3 separate regions of the Homo sapiens genome follow, and all the other regions are linked to region 1. Evidence: promoter capture Hi-C in 16 types of primary human blood cells and fetal thymus (Javierre and others, 2016). All regions are on one chromosome and are shown on one strand. The core of a region is centred on a gene start or on the middle of the fragment in contact, and the rest is flanking DNA. Distances in the headings are between cores, read along the strand shown. Region 1 holds the start of NSMAF (neutral sphingomyelinase activation associated factor). Region 2 has its middle 350 kb from the start of CA8. Region 3 has its middle 150 kb from the start of LINC00588.

Region 1 (3,010 bases), core at 299-2,798:
ATAAACAACCCTTTCTGTGACTAAAACCTAATCACATCACCAAAAACATTTTTGAAAGCCATATCTGAGATACGTTTTCTGTGTATCGTATCTTCTTCTCTACAGTAGAAAAATGACATTTCGTACTGTGGACACACTGGTTAGACCAACATTACAGATTAGAGAAAGATGAATGTCTGGATCAAAGGGGTCGAGTCAACCCTTATAAAACAAGTGTAGACAAATCTTGAAGTCTGCACTTGTATTCCCACGTGTAACCTGCTTTGCTGGTATTCACTGATGAGACAACGTGACAGGCTAGCAGCACTGGAAGATCTGTGGCTCTCACAATCAAAACAGTGTGTCTGTAAAATGATTCAGCCCCCCTTTCCTTTTGGCATCTGAGCTGCAGACCGAGCAAGTTGTTTCTGTCACCAAAAATGCCCTGGGAACTATACATAGAGCCGAAGTGAGCTTTCTTATGAGACTTCCCTTGGGGACAGGTCCAGCATATCTGAAAGGGAACTGCTGTGAGACCATTTTAGCTCAAGGGATCCCAAATCCTTACTGGGATGCTGGTGAGAATGAGTGCTCCGCTGCCGCACCGCGATTTCGACTGCAAAGCTTTCCAACACAAGGTCCACTGCGCGGGGAGCAAGTGTTTGGGAGGCAGGACCTTGGCTTTCCTCAGAATCAGGCCTTTCCGGCGGCCCCCCTCCCAGCCTTCCAGGGCATGGAGCTAGTCCTGTGTCTAAAGGAGTCGGCAGGAAAAAGGCGCGGCAATGCGAGTGGGTGGTCGCCGGCCTGCTCGGTGCCGCCCGGCGACCAACTCTGCGGCGCCGGCGCCGAGTGCCTGGACCCGATTAAGGGGAAGGATTAGAAAGGGGGTGCCCGCCGGGCAGCGTACTCACCCTCCCCTGCGAACGCCCGGGCTCGCGTGCCGGGATCCACGCCCGGACCCCGCGCGGCCTTCCGGGTGAGCTGCCCGCGGCCGCCGGGACCTGCACTGCCGGATAGCTCGGCATGCCTCGGCTCCGCGGTGGAATCTGGCCTGGCCCGTCATCCAGTTCCTGTCCCCGGCAGGCTCCGGCCCAGACCAGGCCCCCGGCCTCTCACCCCGACCTCAGGTTTCCGCCACAGCCCCCAGCCCAGGCCCTGGACACGCGTCCGGCCCCTGCCTCCGTGCCCGGCCCCCACGCCGCCTCCCGTCCCTCAGATCTCCGGCCGGCGTCCCCACGACCGGCCCCGACTAGGCCCCCGGCTGGGCCCTTCTTCAGCTGGGCGCGCACCTCTCCTTGGAGTAGAGCTGCAGCTGCTGCTCCTGCTGCTTCTTCCGGATAAACGCCATGGAGGGTAGGCGCGGGCGGGCGCAGAGCGCACAGGCAGGCCCCGCCGCCGCCTGCCGAGGAGGTCCGGAGGAGCCGGGGAGGGCGGGATTGGTGGCCGGCTGGGGAGCGCGCGGCTGCCGGCCTGGCTTCCCCTGCGGCGCCGCTGGGCGGCCGAGAGCCCGACGCGGCGTCCCGGCCGCGCTCACCGCAGCATCCTCGCGTGGGGACTCCGGCGGCACCGTGACTCAGGCCCGGAGGAGGGGCGCGCGGTGACACGAGGCGCCCCAAACTCAGGCCGCCTCAGAGGATCGCCAGGGCCAGCGGCCAGACCAGGATCCGACCTCACACACTAAACGTTTCACCACTTTACCAACCATTGCAGGCTGCGTTTTAAATATTTTACGCATAAAAAGGGATGCTGGCCCATAAACCACCAATCTGTTGGCCACAAAGACTTGAAATAACAACGTTTTGTGTCCTCCATTGTGAAAAAAAAAAAAAGACGGAAGTTAAAGGGGTGAAGGCAACTCAGTCGTAACTATTCCAAATACACCAGGAATAAGTGGAGATTTATAGCCAAGGAGCAAGGAGCAGGTGTTCGGAAAACTGCTAAGAGGAAACATCAATTCTGGGGGAAATTCTGGCTGAACCAACCTAACAGGAGTCCCAGTGAAGGCAGGCCAGGGGGTCAGATACTAAGGGTAGGAGTAAAGAATTTTGATCACATATGGAGGGTGGGGGATTCTTGCTAAACTGCCGTGGCAGTGTTACTTCCTAACACTGCATTTACAAGGAAGTGCACACAAGGACCTGGGAGAAGATTCAGAAGCCTAACTGAAGTTTGGCCAAGCAAAGAATCTTTAACACAGTCTCTTGATTGTTGAGATAATTGCTCGCATGATTTTTTTTTATATAACAGCTTTATTGGGATATAACTCACATACCAAACAAGTCAACCATTTAAAGTATACCATTCAGCGATTTTTAGTATATTTCCAGATATGTTCAACAATCACCACAATTTGAGAACATTTTCATCACATGTAAAAGAAACCCATACCCTCTAGCTGTCACTCTTCCTAACTCTACCCTCCAAACCCCAGCCCTAGCAAACAATAATCAATTTCCTGTCTCTATGGGTTTGCCTATTCTGGATATTTCATATAAATGGAGCCATACAATATGTGGCCTTTTGTGTCTGGCTTCTTTCATTTAGCGTAATGCTTTCAAGGTTCATCTATGTTGTAGCATGTATCTGTACAGTACTTCGTTCCTTTAGATTGCTGGAGCATATTCTGTTGCATTTTGTTTATCCATTCATCAGTTGATGGACATTTCAGTTGTTTCCACATTTTGGCTATTGTGAATAAGGCTGCTGTACACAGTCATGTACAGTTTTTTTATGGACCTATGTTTCCATTTCTGTTGAGTGGAATTGGAATCTAAGAGTGGAATTGCTGGATGTGGAGGCGAAAGCAGCTCCATCTTGGAAGCTAATCCTCCGTGTTGACTTCTGATTGACCCCAGTTCTGGGAAGGCCTCTAAGATTTCTACTTTATCTATTGTTCCTTGTGTAAGAGCAGGTATCTACCCAGTATGTTCTGTCCTTAATTCAAACAACTTGATGTTATTATACTTCAATTGTCCTACACATCCCTTCTGAACCACCCCTCCCCTATGGTATATAAGCCCTAAGGGGCTGG
Region 2 (3,010 bases), core at 318-2,817, 1.3 Mb after region 1:
ACAGCCACGAAAACTTTTCAAGTATTGGCTTCCTGCATTTTCATCCAAAACAATTTTGCAGGCATCCTCACAAACACAAGAAAAAAAATTCCAAGGTTGTGCCTAGCGGACTCAGAAACAATTGATTGAAAAAGGAAAACTTTCTCCAGACAGCAAGCAGGAAGGGTAGCATGTTAGTCTGCAGTATGCCACGTCATGAGTTTTACCCTCCATGTTGCATTTCTTTCTGTTTATTAACCATTTTTATTCCAGAATGTTTTTAATTCCATATTTTTTGTTTAATGAAGTAAGTCTCAAACTAATGATTCACAGCAATTAAAATGGAAATTTCACCCATTTTAACCAGGAGACTGTGGGACACAAACAATATAGGAAGAGGCGAGTGTGTAAAATTGCATATCTCAACCAGAGACCAAAGTAATGTGATCAGAAAATTTAAGTACAAAAAGGGGTTTTTTTTAACCCTTTAAAAATGTTTCTATTAACATGCTCTCTTTCCACTGAAGAGGAAACTCAGGGAGAAAACATTTATGGACAAGTCCATAACATTAACCAAAAGTGTAATAAGGGCAAATAACCTTCTAAGAGAAAAGAAAACTTAGTTTATGAGTTTTTATTTTGCACCAAAAAGCTTCAAAATAAAAGGGGGGCTGATACTCTCTACACATCAATCTCTAAGCCACCCAGGGTGCTTGCACCTCCACATTGCACTGGCTGTGCCCCCATGGCAGTTGTGGGTGTCTGAGGCAGGTGACAAATGCAGGCACCTTGGACAACAGCTACCATGGTGCCCTGAAGCCCCTGACAGCCCAGAGTTACAATTAGACAGTGGGGGAACTTTGTCTTTGAGCCACCTATCCTCCTTTCAGTGGTTTTCCACCTGTGGTGGCAACTTCTCACGTGATCCATGAGCCTCCCAGGACCCTCTGTAGATGGTGTATCCTGGCACAGTACAGAAGCTGGTAGTGGAAAACAATGCCCAAGAAGGGCATGGCTTCATGTTAGATGGATCTGGGTTCATATTCTGACCTCACCCCTTACCAACTGCATGAATTTAGACACGTTACGTTGTCTTTCCAACCACAGTGTCTTCATCTGTAAATGAGAATAATATAATTTTGTGCATGGAGTCTTTTGAGAATGAGATCAGATAATACACATGAAACATCAGGCTCAGATCGGTTACAGACGCAGACTCTGAAATGACTTGCGGTTCAAAGCCTGACTCTACCACTTCACTACCGGGTGGCTGGACGAGTGTCACTTCACTTCCTAGTGCCTTGTCTCTGAAGGGAAGATTAGAAAAACACCTACTCATAGGGAGTAGCTGTTAAGTGCTCATCTTTTGTTTGCTGGCAAAAGTGCTTTGAAAAATGTCCAGCACATAATGAAAATTTGGCCTTATTTTACTCCATATTTTAAAGGTCAAGTACTCAGCTGCTATGCATGATAGGTGGCACTAAGATAAGACCTAGCCAAAAAATAGGCCACGTAATAGTAACAAAAGAAAATATTTTCCCCCAGAGCAGAGGTTTGGTATAAATGTGGAGGAAAATCATGAGCATGAAGTTTTGAAGTGCTGTGTGTTATATTGTTGGAGAAGACAGCAGTACTGAAGTAGGAGACAGGGTGTAAAATATGGATCTGGAAATTGGCTTGTATTGGTGAAATTTAGTGAAGGAGCTGGAAGAAAAATGGGAACTTCTCGAGAAACTGGATACAAAAACAAAAGAAATCTAATAAAGTTGCTGCTATAGATCAGGCCCTCAGTGAGACTTCAATGCAGTTCACAAACATTTACAGAAAAATTACTCTGTACTCAATAACAAGAGCGCTGAGCTGGGAGACAGGAATTCAAAACAGTAGCATACCAACGGGGCGGGGCAGTGGTAGAGATTTGCCCCAGCAAGGAAAAGTATGTTATTACTGACATTGTTTAGAATTGCCAGTGCATGATGATAATAAAAAGCTGGCCGGCTTTCAGTCACTGTTATTATTGTTTATAAATTCCCTACGGACAGTTTACCCAGCACCCAGTGCAGGCTGCGTTCACCACCCCTCCCTTGGTCTCCCTCTGACATCAGGTGAGATATGCCTGTTCCCAAAAAGCATGCAGCATAGTAAGAAACCATTAAGAAGAAATAATCATAAACAGTAAGTGAAAGCCACACCATCTATTAATTATCAAAATAAATTCCAGTTGGTATAAATATTTAAATGTGTGCAATAAAATTTATTTAAAATTAAAAACAAAAATCAAATATAGAAGCTACATGTAAAGTTTTATCTTACCGGTTGTTAAGCAGACTGCTCAAAAACCTAATAGCTAATCCTAAAAATCATTCACTGTTTATACAAAACTGTTACTTAAATGAGTATCCTGTATGTTTTCTGAAAAGCCTACCAATATGGCCAATGAACATTTCATTTACCTAATTTTTCTTGGGATGGTACTCTGTATCCAGTGCGGTTCTAAGCATTGCACCAGAGGCAGACTCACCATCAAGCTTCTGCTCGCTTCATTTGCACAGGTGCCCTCCCTCCCCACGAGGCCATCGGGTATCATATGCCTTTGGAACATTTATATAAGTAAGATATTTTGGCTGCAGTTGGTTCAGACCACTGTTTCTCATCACTGACTTTCTTTCCATAATGCTGCCCCTCTGTATGGTGGTGTTGCAGTAGCTCTGGGCAATTTTGCAATTCTCCTGTGGGGAGGTTAGTTGGGAATACATTTAGTTTGCTTTTAGTAGGACATATTTTTGCAGTTTGCAGTCACTTTTGAGTATAGTTACATTCTTGTTAGCCAATTGGATGTAGGTATTTCTTCCGGGAATTCTCATGTCACTCTTTATGCTAATTCTTCCAACCAGAGTTTGTCTCATGATCCGAAAATGTCTGTGACTCTGCACACCGGAAATGTACGTGTAAAGGAGAAAAAATAAGGATAGAAATGCACAGAGCCAGAGGTTAGCATGTGAAAAATTCCTCCAAATTAGAAAACTCCCAT
Region 3 (3,010 bases), core at 358-2,857, 1.2 Mb before region 1:
CAAATTGGCTTAAAGCCAGCTAGTCATATTGACTACTCTTTGCTAGAGTTTCCATTTGCTATACAGTAGTTCTGTTCTCCTTATTGTTAGTGTGATTTTTCCAGGGCATCAAAAATTTGTGATATGCAATAGAAAAGATGTGAAATCAACCCTGGTGCCCATCAGCAGTGGACTACATAAGGAAAACGTGGTACATATACACCGTGGAATACTAAGCAGTCATATAAAAAGAACAAAATCATATCCTTTGCAGCAACACAGATACAGCTGGAGGCCATTATCCAAAGTAAACTAATGCAGAGGCAGAAAATCAAATACCTTATGTTCTCCTGTAGACGTAGGAGCTGAACATTGGGTACACACGGACACAAACATGGAAACAATAGACAGTGGGGAATATTACAGTGGGAAGGTGAGAGGGTTGAAAAACCCTGCTGGGTTCTATGCTCACCCACTGGGTGACAGGTTCAATCATACTCCCAACCCCAGCATCACACAATCTACCTCTGTAACACACCTGTATATGGACCCCCTGAATCCAAAGTAATAGACAAAAAATAAAATAAAATAAAATTGGTGATCTGTTGGTTGAAAAATTAACAGCAAAAGATTTTATTTTGGCCGGGAGCAGTGGCTCACACCTGCAATCCCAGAACTTTGGGAGGTCAAAAGACAGGCAGATCACTTGAGCCAAGGCATTCAAGACCAACCTGGGCAACATGGCAAAACCTCCTCTCTACCAAAAAAAAAAAAAAAAAAAATTAGCCAGACGTGGTGGTGTGCGTCTGGAGTCCCAGCTACTCAGGAGGCTGAGATAGGAGGATCGTTTGAATCTGGAAGGTGGAGGTTGCAGTGAGCTGAGATTGGGCCACTGCACTCCAGCCTGGACAACAGAGTGAGACCTCTGTCTCAAAAAAACGCATTATTTTATTCAACAACCTCTACTGACCATCATATGACCTCATTTAACCAAAAATAAGTTAAACTCAAAAGCAGAAAACAGACATACAGATAGGGGACTATCCAGAGAGAAACAGAATCCTTGCATCACTTCCATTTTTTGAGGCTTTTTCTTTTTTCTTTTCTTTTTTTTTTTTTTTTGAGACGGAGTTTCCCTCTTGCTGCCCAGGCTAGAGTGCAATGGCGCGATCTCGGCTCACTGCAACCTCCGCCTCCTGGGTTCAAGCGATTCTCCTGTCTCAGCCTCCCCAGTAGCTGGGATAACAGGCACTTGCCACCACGCCCAGCTAATTTTTTTGTATTTTTAGTAGAGATGGGCCTTCTCCATGTTGGTCAGGCTAGTTTGGAACTTCCAGCCTCAGGTAATCTGCCTTCCTCGGCCTCCCGAAGTGCTGAGATTACAGGCATGAGCCACCTTGCCCAGCCTGAGGCTTCTGATATACTACAAATAAATAAACAAAATAATATTTTATTTTATTTTATTTATTTTATTTTATTTTTGAGGCAGAGTCTCGCTCTGTTGCCCAGGCTGGAGTGCAGTGGCGTGATCTCAGCTCACTGCAAGCTCCGCCTCCCGGGTTCACACCATTCTCCTGCCTCAGCCTCCCCAGTAGCTGGGACTACAGGCGCCCGCCACCCCCGGCTAATTTTTTGTATTTTTTTTTTAGTAGAGACGGGGTTTCACTGTGTTAGCCAGGATGGTCTCGGATCTCCTGACCTCGTGATCTGCCTGCCTCGGCCTCCCAAAGTGCTGGGATTACAGGCATGAGCCACTGCGCCCGGCCAAACAAAATAATTATAATTAGGAAACAAGATTATAAAAATTGTGGTATACTTTAAATATTTCCAATTAACAAATGAAGTGGTATGAAGGATTTTTTTTTTTAAATTCTGTCAGTGCATCTGTGTAGCTATTTATATAACCTAGTCAGAGATAACATCCAACAGCTGACTCTGAGGCTCTTTATAAATAGGCCCTGATGTGCACAGATAAGGCAAGAGCTCAGCCCTGGTCAGCAGCCACTTTTGGAAGCAAGACCTACAAGATTTCCACTGACTGGAGCACGTTTTATTTTTAACTTTTATTTTAGGTTTGGGGGTAGATGTGGAGGCTTGGTACATAGGTAAACTTGTGTCACGGGGTTTTTTGTACAGATTATTTCATCACCCAGGTGTTAAGCCCGGTACTCAGTAGTTATTTTTTCTGCTTCTCTCCCTTTTCCCACCCTTCACCCTCAAGTAGACCCCAGTGTCTATTGTTACCTTCTTTGGGTACATGAGTTGTCATCATTTAGCTCCCACTTATGAGTGAGAACATGTGGTATTTGGTATTTGGTTTTCTATTCCCGCATTTGCTAAAGATAATAGCCTCCAGATCCATCTATGTTTCCACAAAAGACATAATCTCATTCTTTTTCATGGCTGCATAGTATTCCATGATGTATATGTACCACATTTTTTTAATCCAGTCTATCATCCACAGCATTTAGGTTGCTTATGTATGTTTTTGCTATTGTGAATAGCACTGCAATGAACATTTCCGTGGCATGTGTCTTTATGATAGAATGATCTATATTCCTCTGGGTATATACTCAGTAATAGAATTGCTGGTTCAAATGGTAATTCTGTTTTTAGCTCTTTGAGGAATGGCCACACTGCTTTCCACAATGACTGAACTAATTTACACTCCCACCAACAGTGTATAAATGTTTCCTTTTCTCTGCAACCTTGCCAGCCTGTTATTTTTTCACTTTTTGATAATAGCCGTTTTGACTTGTGTGAGAAGGTATTTCATTGTGGTTTTGGATGGCATTTCTCTAATTATCAGTGATATTGAGGTTTTTTCATACGCTTGTTAGCTGCATGCATGTTTTCATTTGAAAAGTACCTGTTCATGTCCTTTACCCAGTTTTTAGTGTTGTTTTTTGTTTTCCTTTTGTGAATTTGTTTAAGTTCCTCATAGATGCTGGATATTAGACCTTTGTCAGTTGCATAATTTGCAAATATTTTCTGAGTGGAGTACTTTGGGTCTTTGTTTATATGGGTCAAA

What was found. The method cuts DNA at HindIII sites, captures the fragments that hold promoters and counts their contacts. A CHiCAGO score of 5 or more calls a contact.
Region 2: a fragment that was not itself captured here is called in contact with the fragment with the promoter of NSMAF in region 1 in 1 of 17 cell types (naive B cells); the score reaches 5.5 in naive B cells.
Region 3: a fragment that was not itself captured here is called in contact with the fragment with the promoter of NSMAF in region 1 in 1 of 17 cell types (monocytes); the score reaches 5.4 in monocytes.

What each region holds. Positions count from the first base shown.
Region 1 is chr8:58,658,305-58,661,314 of GRCh38, forward strand. It overlaps NSMAF (neutral sphingomyelinase activation associated factor), which reads right to left and starts at 1,549. Exons shown (of 31, transcript NM_003580.4): 1 at 1,269-1,549. The coding sequence starts at 1,327. RefSeq lists enhancers at 1-552, 87-376, 553-1,115 and silencers at 827-1,276, 1,287-1,626. The HindIII fragment of the contact is 3,520 bases long and covers 602-3,010 here.
Region 2 is chr8:59,930,689-59,933,698 of GRCh38, forward strand. No RefSeq gene overlaps it. Among named protein-coding and RNA genes, the nearest start is that of CA8, 350 kb to the right of the region's middle. The HindIII fragment of the contact is 1,876 bases long and covers 630-2,505 here.
Region 3 is chr8:57,426,948-57,429,957 of GRCh38, forward strand. No RefSeq gene overlaps it. Among named protein-coding and RNA genes, the nearest start is that of LINC00588, 150 kb to the left of the region's middle. The HindIII fragment of the contact is 4,467 bases long and covers 1-3,010 here.